Linked DNA regions of Homo sapiens: all the other regions are linked to region 4. Evidence: promoter capture Hi-C in 16 types of primary human blood cells and fetal thymus (Javierre and others, 2016). All regions are on one chromosome and are shown on one strand. Each heading gives the region's core, a stretch centred on a gene start or on the middle of the fragment in contact. The rest is flanking DNA. Distances are from core to core; before and after follow the strand shown.

Region 1 (2,970 bases), core at 301-2,800, 340 kb before region 4:
CCATTTCTGAGTCTTTGAGCTCAGTATTCTATATTTTAAATCTGGTGCAAATTACAGGAATATAAGATTATGACTGTCTTTTTACCTTTTGAGTTAAGACCAACTAACATATCTGAGTTACCATATCTTTGGCAGTTTCAATGTCCTCTATATAACCTGTCCTCAACATTCTAACCTCATAACTTATTAATATCATTAAATAACTATTATTTTTGCCCCACTTCAGCCATCTCCTACCTCAAAGAACCACTCTTGAATTGTCATTATCTGAAAGAACTTCTCAGAAACCTAAGTCTCCCAGAATTCAAATTTTCTCTTTTCCTTATTTTCCATTAGGAATAATCTTTGATTTTAAAGAGATATGTAGCTTCCATTTCTCCCCACATAAATGCTTCCTTTGACTTATTTTTTCATCCAGCTTAAATCCCAAGATACAACAGTTTAAATATGTTCCCATGCATCTTCAACTTGATTTCATTTATTCATCCAATAAATTACTACATGAATAATTATTTCAGATTTCAATGATTATTTCATCCAATAATTATTTAGTATAGATTATCTACAAAGCAGTAAATATAAAGTCAAATAAAACACAGCTCCTGCCCTCCAACTGGTCATTTCAAGCACTTCTTTTGAGAAGACTCATTGGGCCATCCCAATCCCAGGTTAACTTAGATGTCCCTCCTTTGTGACCCTGGAGCATCCTGTAAGTTTTCATTCAATACTGTATTTATGTGCCCGGAAATATGAGAATACCTCAAGAAGACAGACTACATCTCTTGTCTCTTATCATCCCACTGGCTAGCATGTGCGCATAAGGTTTGGCTGAAAACAATTTGACTAAATGCAATTTGACCAAATGCATAAAGCAATCTGGCTAATAGGTAAATTTTAGGCAGAATGGTATTGTAAATAAATATTTGTTACTGGTTTTAAAATCTGTAAAATACTGGTATACTGGGGATAGAGTGTGTGTATGGCAATTTCCCAAAGCTTCGTGTATCTTTAAGTATTTTTATGCATATTTATATTTCTAAATTGGCAGAGGGACGCTCCTTTTGTCACATTTTCGTTTATCCCAACCTATATATCTGACAAATTGTCTATTTTAAAAATTACAGCGGCCAGGTGTGGTGGCTTATGCCTGTAATCCCTAGCACTTTGGGAGGCTGAGGCATGTGGATTGCTTGAGCTCAGGAGTTCAAGACCACCCTGAGCAATATGGCGAAACCTCACCTCTACAAAAAATACAAACAAGAATAATAATAATAATAATTAGCCAGGTGTGGTGGCGCATGCCTGTAGTCCCAGCTAATTTGGGGGCTAAGGTGGGAGGATGGCTTGAGCACAGGAGGTCAAGGCTGCAGTGAGCTGAGATCACGCTACTGCATTCCAGCCTGGGTGACAAAATGAGACCCTATCTCAAAAAAATAAAATAAAAGTTACAGTACGTTACAAAACAGTAGTACAAAAGGACTTATTCATGTATACACTCAACAAGTATTTACAGACTGCCTGCTCTCTGCTAGGCATTATTCTCATAGTAACAATAAACTGGGGAACAGACAGACAAGGTCCATCATCACGTGTACATTCTGGTGGATCCCACTTTTGAACAGAAATGACTAGAAAAGCCTCTGACTAGAAACTTATGCAACCAGATACCAATATCATACATCTTTAAGTTGAAGGATTTATACGTTTTCTAATGTACTTTTCCATTTTGATTTTCCTACATAAATGGGCACTGTCAAACAATAAGAAATAGGAAATAAATAGGAAACTGGCCATACTCAAACAACAAAAATGCTATTAAAAATCTGAGATTTAGGATTGTTGAAAGGTTTCTCTTTTAAATAAACCCAAATCAATTTTCAGTTCCATCCTTCTACTCAAAGGTGTATTTGAAGAACTGATATATTATCTTATAATAATAAAAGCAGGAATATCAGTGATCTGGCAATTTTATTGGTGTTTTTAAGGTATAGTTATAATAAGAAAAATTTTAATTTATAAATGACATTGATAAAATAGCAGGTGAATAATTTTTCAATAATATATGTGCTAGGAAGGGGTTAGTTTCCATAGAATATAAGCTTGATATATAATTGAAATGACCTTTGCTCCCATCCGACTTCCTTGGACTTCCACAATATGGCTCCAACATGACTTTCTAGTCCTATTTTCTGGTAGGCACCTAACAACTATTGTTCTCCAGGAAATCTGACTGAAAGAATTATAAATATAATTTAAATATATGTATATTATATATATATAATATAATATAAACAAATAAAACTAATTTGTCGAAAGCAATTTGGAAATTGGCCTAAAGCTACTGAGAGAACGGTGGCAAATATGACTTTGATTGAAATGCCAAGTTCATCAAAACTGTAATTTCCCAATCACTAATTTTGTTGTTGTGAAGTTTATTTTAGTATTGGTATAAGAGTGTATCATGAGGTAGCTTTGCAACCCTTAGTCTTTGGCAAATATTTTATTTTTACCTGTTTTTTTAAAAAAATTTAAACTTAAAACACCTTTTATGTTTCCAATTTATTTGCAGCCAATAATCCCATGATGCATTGTTCATTATGTAAAAATTGAAAACAATCTAAATATTCAACAGTAAAGGATTTTCAGAGCTAAATACCCTTCATCTTTATGCAGGGAGATGAAGAAGTCAAGAAAACTAATGGAGACTACTCTTTAAAGGAGAACAGCTGCAAAGGCAGAGATAGGCAATAGCTATAAGAGGAAGGTCTAGGAAGTATTTTTTATGATAAGTAAATATGTAGTAGAAATAGCCAAAAGGTGGAAGAACAAAACTAAATATAACAATTATTTAAAAATTCATCATGTTAATTATGTAAGGAAATTAAAAAGCTTTGGTGGACTGAGTAGAACCTCTTCTCTCTCTCTTTCTCTCTCTTTTTTACTTCAATTACTTAAAAACATCACCACTAG
Region 2 (3,040 bases), core at 456-2,955, 300 kb before region 4:
TAATCATTTGCTGACCAGTCTCATTATGTGTCTTTGAAACATACTTTAAAAGGAAAATGAACTAGTTTTTGAGACTATTTAGTGTCGGCTTTTAAAGATTGAATCAAATGGCTGTTTTCTATTCTTAGAATCCTTTTTTTCTTTTCATTTTACTGTTTTCAATATTTTGCACTTCTTATGTAAAGTGAGAGAGGTAAGTTCCACATATTTAGGGACGCTAGCAGTATGCAGCCACAGCTTGGGTAGTGAAGGCCTCTTCTGCATCTTGTGATTTACCAACAGGCCTGAAGTTTCCAGTGTGTGCACAGTGGGATAGTTGTACTCTACGGAGGCTAAAACCTACAAAGTGGTATTTATTACCATTTAACTAAACAGAGGCCAGCATGGCGGAGGAAAAGCCATCTCAGATGCCCATTAACCTATAAACAATCATTTACTGAGCTCCAGGTTGACCTTCCCCCATGTGTAATACATGTGCTTGGTTATGGGGAACTCAGATGTGAATAATTAAAGATGCATTCATTTTCTCTATAATTTTTAAGCCTAAAAAAGGAGACAAATGAGCAATCCAAGAAATATGGTACAATGGGATAGTTTTTGATATGAGTAATCAGAGCACCCGAGGAAGCACAATGGAATGAACTCACTTAAGGGAAAGGATTATCAGGGAATACTTCCCAGAGGAGATAATGCAAAAGCCTAAATTATTAAAAAGAAGTTCATCAAATGCAAGAAGGTAAAGAGAGTTCTAAGAAGGTAAAGGAAAATAGCATGAATAGTTGGCAGAACCTCAACACATTTGGACTCACATGCTCATAGGAGTCATGTAAAAGTGGTCAAGGGCCAGATGTTGAAGCCTTGCATGTTATGCCAAGAAAGTGGGTTTGTTCTTAGGCTAGTAGAAAATCACTGAAGGGCTTTATATGCAGTAGGGAAGGGATCTCATCATTCAATTTGCACTTAGAAAGATATTTTTGGCATATATCTAGAAGGCAGATTGACATGGAGTGAAGTTAATGTGAGGAAGATATTTTAGAATAGGGCATGGGCAAAGAAAAGATTTGAATTCAAGGTGATTTTGTGGTCAATTCACAAAAATCTAACTGAAAAATAATGTATATTCTTGAAATGTGACTGAGACAGTCACAGAAGATGGCCTAGTGAAATGGAAATAGCATGATCTTGGGATATCTTGATCCAGTTTATTAGCCCTGAATTATACAAGTTACATAAACTTTTTGAGCTTTGATTTACTTATCTGTAAAATGGGGTAGTAATATCAGTCTCTCAATATTATCAGGACTAAATTAAGATATGAAATATTTATACAGTATGTGATAAGTACATCAATAAATGTAAGCTTTGTTGTCACAAAACCAAACAATCTACTGGCAATGGTACTCAGAACTGTAAAACTGTCTTTTCACAGAAATCTGTGTATGCGTTTAATAACACATTTTGTTTTGACTTTAAGAAAATCTTACCAATGTGTGTTACATTTTAGCTTTTCTTAAGCAAGAAAATTATTTTAAGTTATAATTTTTCTATTGATTTTTTGAATTTTCACATATTTTTACATAGCTCCTCTGAGCATTAGGGCTAGTATTAAAAAAGTTAAGACAGAGCATATCTAATGGTATTTCTAACTTTTTAAAAACTGGGCCATATTGCAATAACTTGATATTCTGTGTCTTGATAGTAGCTTTTCCCAACGAAATAACTTTAGCATTTCTGAAATGTAATAACTCTAAGGTTACCAGTCAAAAAATATGCACGCCTTTGCAATAAGTAGTTTTAAAAAGCCATGTTTTTACTATATGATGATGATTTCAAAATGTGTTTTTTCCTCAGATCCCTTGGAGAAATTGATGACAGCAGTGTCACTCTTTCTACTGACAAAATGCACAATAGCACTTTTAAAATTCAACCTATAAATGTAGTAGGGTTCAGGCTTTCTTCCCACCCCACCTCACTTTCTGACATAAACCTATCCATAGACACCAAATTTAGAATCATAACTGGAGTTATTTTTCATCATAATTAAGCTTCTTATAATTTTAGATGAGATAGTAATATATAAGAATGCATATTTAAGAATATATATATACAGAAAATGGGATTTACTAATATAGCAATAATAATATTCATAACATCTAAAATCTATTGTTCTTAATATAGATTCTAGAAATCATATTAAACACTCCAGATATATTGGTAATGTATTCCCCACAGCAGCCCCATGTGGTAGGTGCCATGAATATCCCCATTTTACTCAAGGTTTTGCAGGTTAATAAGTGGCAAAGCAAGACTAAAACTCAGTTCTGCTGACTCCAAAGCCCAACATCCTAACTATATATATTTGCTCAGTAGAACTCACTTTGATGAACAGCATCTAGTATTGTGTTCTATAATCAGAGAATATAAGAAGCAGTAGGAATCTGAAATGTTTCCATTGACTGTAGTTCTATAGGATAACATAGCAGAGGGAAAAAAATTCTAAAAACTTACCTGTGACTGGTATCTGTGCAGAAGAGCTATTTCATCTCTTACTAGGATCACGTCAGAAGGAGCTGATCTGCAACATGGAAACCCAGCCAGGATCTCTTCTCGTTTGCTGGCACTGACATTATCAAACATTGGGTAATGGTCCACAGATGCAAATTCACTTGCTGCACATTCATAATACGTGCCTGTCAGCAGGGTCACCGCCAGCCAAGTTAAAGGAGCAATAACTGCCCTCCCAGTGATGCTGAAGAACCTAAGGCAAGCCAGCTTGCACTCTAGGGGGCTGATTCTCCTGTATGGAGGGGCACAGCTGCAGCAGTATTCACCGGTAATTGTCCACATTTGGCTTCTCAGAGCAAAGCCAGCAACGAGAAGGATCAAGGCAGGAATGACAAGAAAAGCAGAACCATAATAGAAATTTTTTCCAACCTGACAAGGACAGCTGAATGTAGAAGAGGAGAAGAGTTGTTGCCCACCAATAGTCAAGGCTGCAATTAAAGAATTGATAAATATTCCATTTCTCTGCAGAGAAGAC
Region 3 (2,850 bases), core at 24-2,523, 260 kb before region 4:
TGAGCAGAGAGAAGAAAGACGCTGAACAAATCAGGCACCATCCTAGAATCTTAAGAAGAAAGAAATATTGAGTACACACGTGAAAGCAAAGCCATTTAGGGAGCTGGGGTATTATTGAGAAGTGTATAGCTAAATTATTACCACAGTCTTTGACATACCTCATTTGAAATCATTCATCTTAATTTTTAAACACTTTAAACTCACTTTTTGAATTTATTAGGTAAACTCAAAATAAAGTTAGGGTTTACCTAATCTCTATTCTCCTCCCCAACATTGCTGGTGCAAAGAAATAACCAGAAGGCAGGCAGATAGAAAAGAGTACAAAGTATAGATTACATAAGACTTACAGAAATCAAGCTCAAATAGTATTAGCTCTGATAGGAAAATATTCTGTGCATAAGTAAATGTGGTCATTTGAGTAAATGACCAGCTCTTCAGCCAGGCATTTTTAGGCATTGATAAATGTATATACATGGCTAGAGACTAATTTTTTTCTGTCATTACTTACTGTCCATGGAAAAGGGAGACAGACGATACAATCAGGAAGCTGAAGCTATAAGAATTTAAAGGCTGAGAAAAAATTAGGATCATTAAAACCTTGAAAATGATTTGTCTTGATTTTTGGTAATTAGAAAAAACAAACTCTTTCCTGAATATGAAATGGTTCAGCTTTTCTCCCCTGGATCTTAAAAGCAGAAGTTTAAATAGCTTAAATTATCTTCTAACTTTTTTGGCTCTAACTCTGTTTTCACAATTGAAATTAATTTTATGTTTGGAAAACTAACATCTTTTTCAAAGTGTCTCTTGACATTTAGTTTAAATGATCCTTAATATTCTTTAGCAGATGAGCCTATTTGAAAATAGAAATAATAATCTACAAATGAACCCATTCAGACCATAACAAAACCACAAATAAGCTTTAAATCAGTGGTTCCCAACCTTTGACTCAGATATAGAGTGTTTGTGAAGGGTCTCAACCTCTGCACCAATGCCAACTCTGGACTGGCACTACTCAGGTTTAAATCTAAACTTTCCCCTTACTATGCGTATTCTTTTTATCTCAGTTTCTTCACTTGTGAAACGAGGGTTACTCACCTTGAAGGGTAATTTGATGGACCTAATGAAATGATACTGGACACATGTATTCATTAAGTTTTAGCTAATATTATATGCTGCTATTCTTCAAATATATATACACTTATGTAAATGTGTTACTGAACTCATAATATCTTTCTGTACTTATAATTAATGAGTGAGGCACAACTACCATCAAGTGAAAGTCCCTGAATGGATTGTGGTTGGCTACCTTATATGTTCCTCCTTCCTTCATCGTCTGTCTTCCTCTTTTTCCACAGCTGAGGCTTCTGTACGCCATCTCATCTCAGTACCTGAGCCAGTTCCAGCTGAATTATAAACTATTCCATCAGCTTCAGGTCCCCTTCCCCCTTTCACATGACGTTTGCATTGACCGATGCTTTCCCTCAATTCACAGTACCCAGAGTCAAACTAGAGCTTGGTGGATGCTTCCATACCAGCCCTCAAAAGTGTCTTATTTTGCATATGTCCTCCCCCAAACCATGGCAGTTTTCCTCATTGACTTGGAACAAATACTGTGTACCAGAAGCTTTATGCCCATTTGTATCTATCATCTCTAAATCTTCCGACAACTCTCCAAAGTAAGTGATATTACCACTAACTATGAGAAAACTGGGACTCAAAGAGGTCGAACCACTAGTTCTAGGTCACATAGCTGGTGATTGGTAGCATCAGCATACAAACCCAACGCCAGACAATTCCAAGACTGAGCTCTTTCCACTACTCCATTCTATCTTCCTTAAGAATAGAGAGTCATCCAGCTAGATTTTTTATCTGCCCCACCCATGGATGAATGTTCTTTTCCGCCTCCAGGCACATGTACACCTATTGTTGGTCTGGACTATATGCTGCCTCCTGCCTATCTGAACCTCTGTAGTCAGCACCTGCTATTGATACAAGTTCTCTTGCCCACATTCCTTATGCATCTTCCCACAGGAATCAGCCCCAGGTCCTTCTCATTCTGATGAAGAATCAGCAGGTCAGTGTGCTCAGCCTAAGCTATGACATGATGTGCAAGATTTCCTTGTACCTGTGTTTAGAGAGGAGAAGCTCACACAATGATAAGTGTTTGGGCCTGCCACTGACTGAATGGAGCCTGGTGACTGAGGACATACACCATAAATCAATCATTCTGTCATAAGAGTTGTAAGTTATACCCTTCTTCAATAAAAGACACAAGACATTTGGGAGCCTGATATGTTTTATCTAAGATGTGCTTTATGCATTAAAGAAAAGATTTTGTTTTGGAGTATTTTTTGACTTATCAATTTATGAAGAGTATGACTTTACTGCCAACCAGCTTTGGAGTGTATGATTTTAAAAACAGATTTTGCCTTGATTTGTTGTTACCAAGGCAAATCCTTGTCGAAAAAGTAAAATAATGCTATTTCTGTGCCTTTATTCTGAAACAGATAGCATTCCTGACAATTTGTGGATCTGCTTATCAACTCTTACCACTTGTTTTGCTTTTGGGAATGCAATTCTTACTACCTATAAATGGGAAGTTAGTCCTTCCTAAGGCTGTACATCTGGATTTGTGTTCATGTGCCTGGAGGAATGACAGGCTACTTCCCTGCATCAATTAGGTAAAGATATGATTTCCTTCTGTTAAATAAAACAATGCCCAAATCTTGAGCTTCTGAAGTAATTAAGAACCCCTTTAGCTGTACAGCACAAAGAGTATAAAACATAATCTCCCTAGAGAGTACAGTCACTTTTTCACAGAAGGCTATTTAAAAACTGCTGATTCCTACC
Region 4 (3,188 bases), core at 238-2,737:
GAGAAAAATAATTGCTCTCTGCTGTGTGAATCTTGTTTGCATATTTCTTATGGGATAACTGATTAGCTGGCAGGCAGTAAAGAGGTCATTCTGGACACATTGTCCTTGGGTAGGCTGACTAGGCATACAAAAAATCCTGCAAGGCAGGCTGTTTCTCCGTATTGTCTGCCAGTGACCTTTCATCAGTACTTTATCTTAGTTGAACCAGAACTACACTCCTTCCCTCGCTAGAAGTCTCAGTATATATGATGTATTCCTCTAAGAGGAATCCTTTTTCTCTAAATCTGTACTTCTGAGCCTGTATTTGAAAGTGATCATAATCTGGGGGGCTTAAAATGGAGTTTCTTTTACAAAGAGTTATAATCATAACCGTTTATTTGAATATAAATTTGACATTAAACATAAATATGCAAAATTTAAATTTCCCTTTGGTCTTGCATTTTTCTAAGGATTAACACCATTATTCTCACACTCCAACAAACTAATATATTGTACTGATAATCACTATCAAATGAATTGTAAGAGCTAACTGACTCGAATAGACAATAACTAACCTTACTTTTAAAGTATTTTAAGAGACAGTAGCATAGATGCCTGCACATAGCTGATTATTGCTCCTGTGCTGCAGTGAATTACCACATGAACACATTTTGAAAAGATTTGTTAGCTTCATGTCCACAGGCATTATGAAGCAGGAACCACTTTTAGATTAAGATTGTAACCTGAGGAAAAGAACATATGCATCAGTTTAGAAATTAAAATCCCCTGAGATATTTCTTTCAGTAATGCTTAAAAGCCTAAATTTGTGCTCGTGTGCCAGTCACCTCTACGTAAGGAAAAACATTTTGCTACTCTTTGTTAAAAGTGAAGAGGAAATATTGTCCACTTGTTTTGTAGATGTTGGCCAAATTATATAAACTTTAAAATCTGTAAGACAAATTGAAATATTCCTTTATTATGTCTTGTTAGGATGAGAGAAGTTTGCCTTTCAGCTGCTCCTTAATTTTAAAAATAACAACACAGCAACACTTCTCTTTAAAATCAAACTCTGCTCATTTAAATTCTTTGGTAATAGCCATGAATCCACACCTTAAAAGAAGGAAGGCCTGTGAGTTCGTGAATCCACTTTCCTACTCAGGAGAAGCCCTATGAACTGACTTGAATAGACAGTAACTCACCTTAAAGTAAATATTTTCAGAAACAATAGGTTAGGTGCCTTAGAAATTCATTCAGAGGCTTAGAAATCCACATTAACACAGTTCTTACATGCTTGAGTCTGGTCTACATCCATTTACGTAAGTAAAACTCCCCTTCCAGACTGACGAAATTCTTTTTGTGACAAGAAGACAAAGGAATACGATGGATTGATAAGCGTAGTCAACCGCGCAGAGAGTTCTCGCGCGATGTTACGACGCTACCGCCCTGACATCACCAGTTGCCATGGTAGCACCGCCGAGAGTAAAGGAGGGGTGGTGCTAGACGTTTCGGGCAGAGCTCGGCCGCTGCGGAGGACAAGGAACTCTCCCTCTCCCACTAGTCTGACTTCTTCCAAAATGAGCGGCCTGGATGGGGGCAACAAGCTCCCTCTCGCCCAAACCGGCGGCCTGGCTGCTCCCGACCATGCCTCAGGAGATCCGGACCGAGACCAGTGCCAAGGGCTCCGTGAAGAAACCGAGGCGACACAGGTGATGGCGAACACAGGTGGGGGCAGCCTGGAGACCGTTGCGGAGGGGGGTGCATCCCAGGATCCTGTCGACTGTGGCCCCGCGCTCCGCGTCCCAGTTGCCGGGAGTCGCGGCGGTGCAGCGACCAAAGCCGGGCAGGAGGATGCTCCACCTTCTACGAAAGGTCTGGAAGCAGCCTCTGCCGCCGAGGCTGCTGACAGCAGCCAGAAAAATGGCTGTCAGCTTGGAGAGCCCCGTGGCCCTGCTGGGCAGAAGGCTCTAGAAGCCTGTGGCGCAGGGGGCTTGGGGTCTCAGATGATACCGGGGAAGAAGGCCAAGGAAGTGACGACTAAAAAACGCGCCATCTCGGCAGCAGTGGAAAAGGAGGGAGAAGCAGGGGCGGCGATGGAGGAAAAGAAGGTAGTGCAGAAGGAAAAAAAGGTGGCAGGAGGGGTGAAAGAGGAGACACGGCCCAGGGCCCCGAAGATCAATAACTGCATGGACTCACTGGAGGCCATCGATCAAGAGTTGTCAAACGTAAATGCCCAGGCTGACAGGGCCTTCCTTCAGCTTGAGCGCAAGTTTGGCCGCATGCGAAGGCTCCACATGCAGCGCAGAAGTTTCATTATCCAGAATATCCCAGGTTTCTGGGTTACTGCCTTTCGAAACCACCCCCAGCTGTCACCTATGATCAGTGGCCAAGATGAAGACATGCTGAGGTACATGATCAATTTGGAGGTGGAGGAGCTTAAACACCCCAGAGCAGGCTGCAAATTCAAGTTCATCTTTCAGGGCAACCCCTACTTCCGAAATGAGGGGCTTGTCAAGGAATATGAACGCAGATCCTCTGGCCGGGTGGTGTCTCTTTCCACTCCAATCCGCTGGCACCGAGGCCAAGACCCCCAGGCTCATATCCACAGAAACCGGGAAGGGAACACTATCCCTAGTTTCTTCAACTGGTTTTCAGACCACAGCCTTCTAGAATTCGACAGAATTGCAGAGATTATCAAAGGAGAACTGTGGCCCAATCCCCTACAATACTACCTGATGGGTGAAGGGCCCCGTAGAGGAATTCGAGGCCCACCAAGGCAGCCAGTGGAGAGCGCCAGATCCTTCAGGTTCCAGTCTGGCTAATCTCTGTCCTGTGAGAAGCTTCTGCACAAGTTTCCTTACCACCTCCTCTTGGACCTATGCTTGGCCAACAGCATGCAGTCTTCCATCTGCTTTCTCTTCATACTGTGGATTATCTTTTCCTTTGGTTCTAAATCTTCAGTAATCGGTTGCAAGATTGTTGGCTTACCTGCCTGTGCCATTCTTCCTCTGGGCCTTCATGCTTTTCTGCATTGTGTTAACATGTTTCAAGTGCATGGCCTTCTACGGCTTCTATGCCAAGCGTATGATACTATAGATATAGTGTACCATACTGCCTTTCTTTGCATGGCTTGGACCCTATCTGTGACCATGCTCTTCTCCCAATTTAAGTGGTTCTGTACCACAAAGAATCTTGATACATTTTCACAAATA

What was found. Contacts are between HindIII fragments. The CHiCAGO score rates a contact against its expected background, and 5 or more counts as called.
Region 1: a contact is called between a fragment that was not itself captured here and the fragment with the promoter of TSPYL4 in region 4, in 8 of 17 cell types (fetal thymus, total B cells, naive B cells and 5 more). The highest score is 10.3, in fetal thymus.
Region 2: a contact is called between a fragment that was not itself captured here and the fragment with the promoter of TSPYL4 in region 4, in 15 of 17 cell types (naive B cells, total B cells, monocytes and 12 more). The highest score is 16.9, in naive B cells.
Region 3: a contact is called between a fragment that was not itself captured here and the fragment with the promoter of TSPYL4 in region 4, in 1 of 17 cell types (monocytes). The highest score is 5.3, in monocytes.

Annotation. Positions count from the first base shown.
Region 1 is chr6:116,597,187-116,600,156 of GRCh38, reverse strand. RWDD1 (RWD domain containing 1) reads right to left here. Exons shown (of 7, transcript NM_015952.4): 7 at 2,482-2,970. Among named protein-coding and RNA genes, the nearest start is that of RSPH4A, 18 kb to the left of the region's middle. The HindIII fragment of the contact is 1,103 bases long and covers 999-2,101 here.
Region 2 is chr6:116,553,820-116,556,859 of GRCh38, reverse strand. CALHM4 (calcium homeostasis modulator family member 4) reads right to left here. Exons shown (of 2, transcript NM_001366078.2): 1 at 2,509-3,040. Among named protein-coding and RNA genes, the nearest start is that of CALHM4, 1.6 kb to the right of the region's middle. The HindIII fragment of the contact is 685 bases long and covers 1,363-2,047 here.
Region 3 is chr6:116,512,799-116,515,648 of GRCh38, reverse strand. All of the region lies in intron 3 of TRAPPC3L (trafficking protein particle complex subunit 3L), which reads left to right. CALHM5 (calcium homeostasis modulator family member 5) reads right to left here. Exons shown (of 2, transcript NM_153711.5): 2 at 1-49. Among named protein-coding and RNA genes, the nearest start is that of CALHM5, 2.6 kb to the right of the region's middle. The HindIII fragment of the contact is 707 bases long and covers 920-1,626 here.
Region 4 is chr6:116,252,374-116,255,561 of GRCh38, reverse strand. It overlaps TSPYL4 (TSPY like 4), which reads left to right and starts at 1,487. Exons shown (of 1, transcript NM_021648.5): 1 at 1,487-3,188. The coding sequence starts at 1,554. The coding sequence ends at 2,798. It also overlaps a transcript of DSE not described here. RefSeq lists enhancers at 1,116-1,345, 1,756-1,915. The HindIII fragment of the contact is 9,221 bases long and covers 1-2,818 here.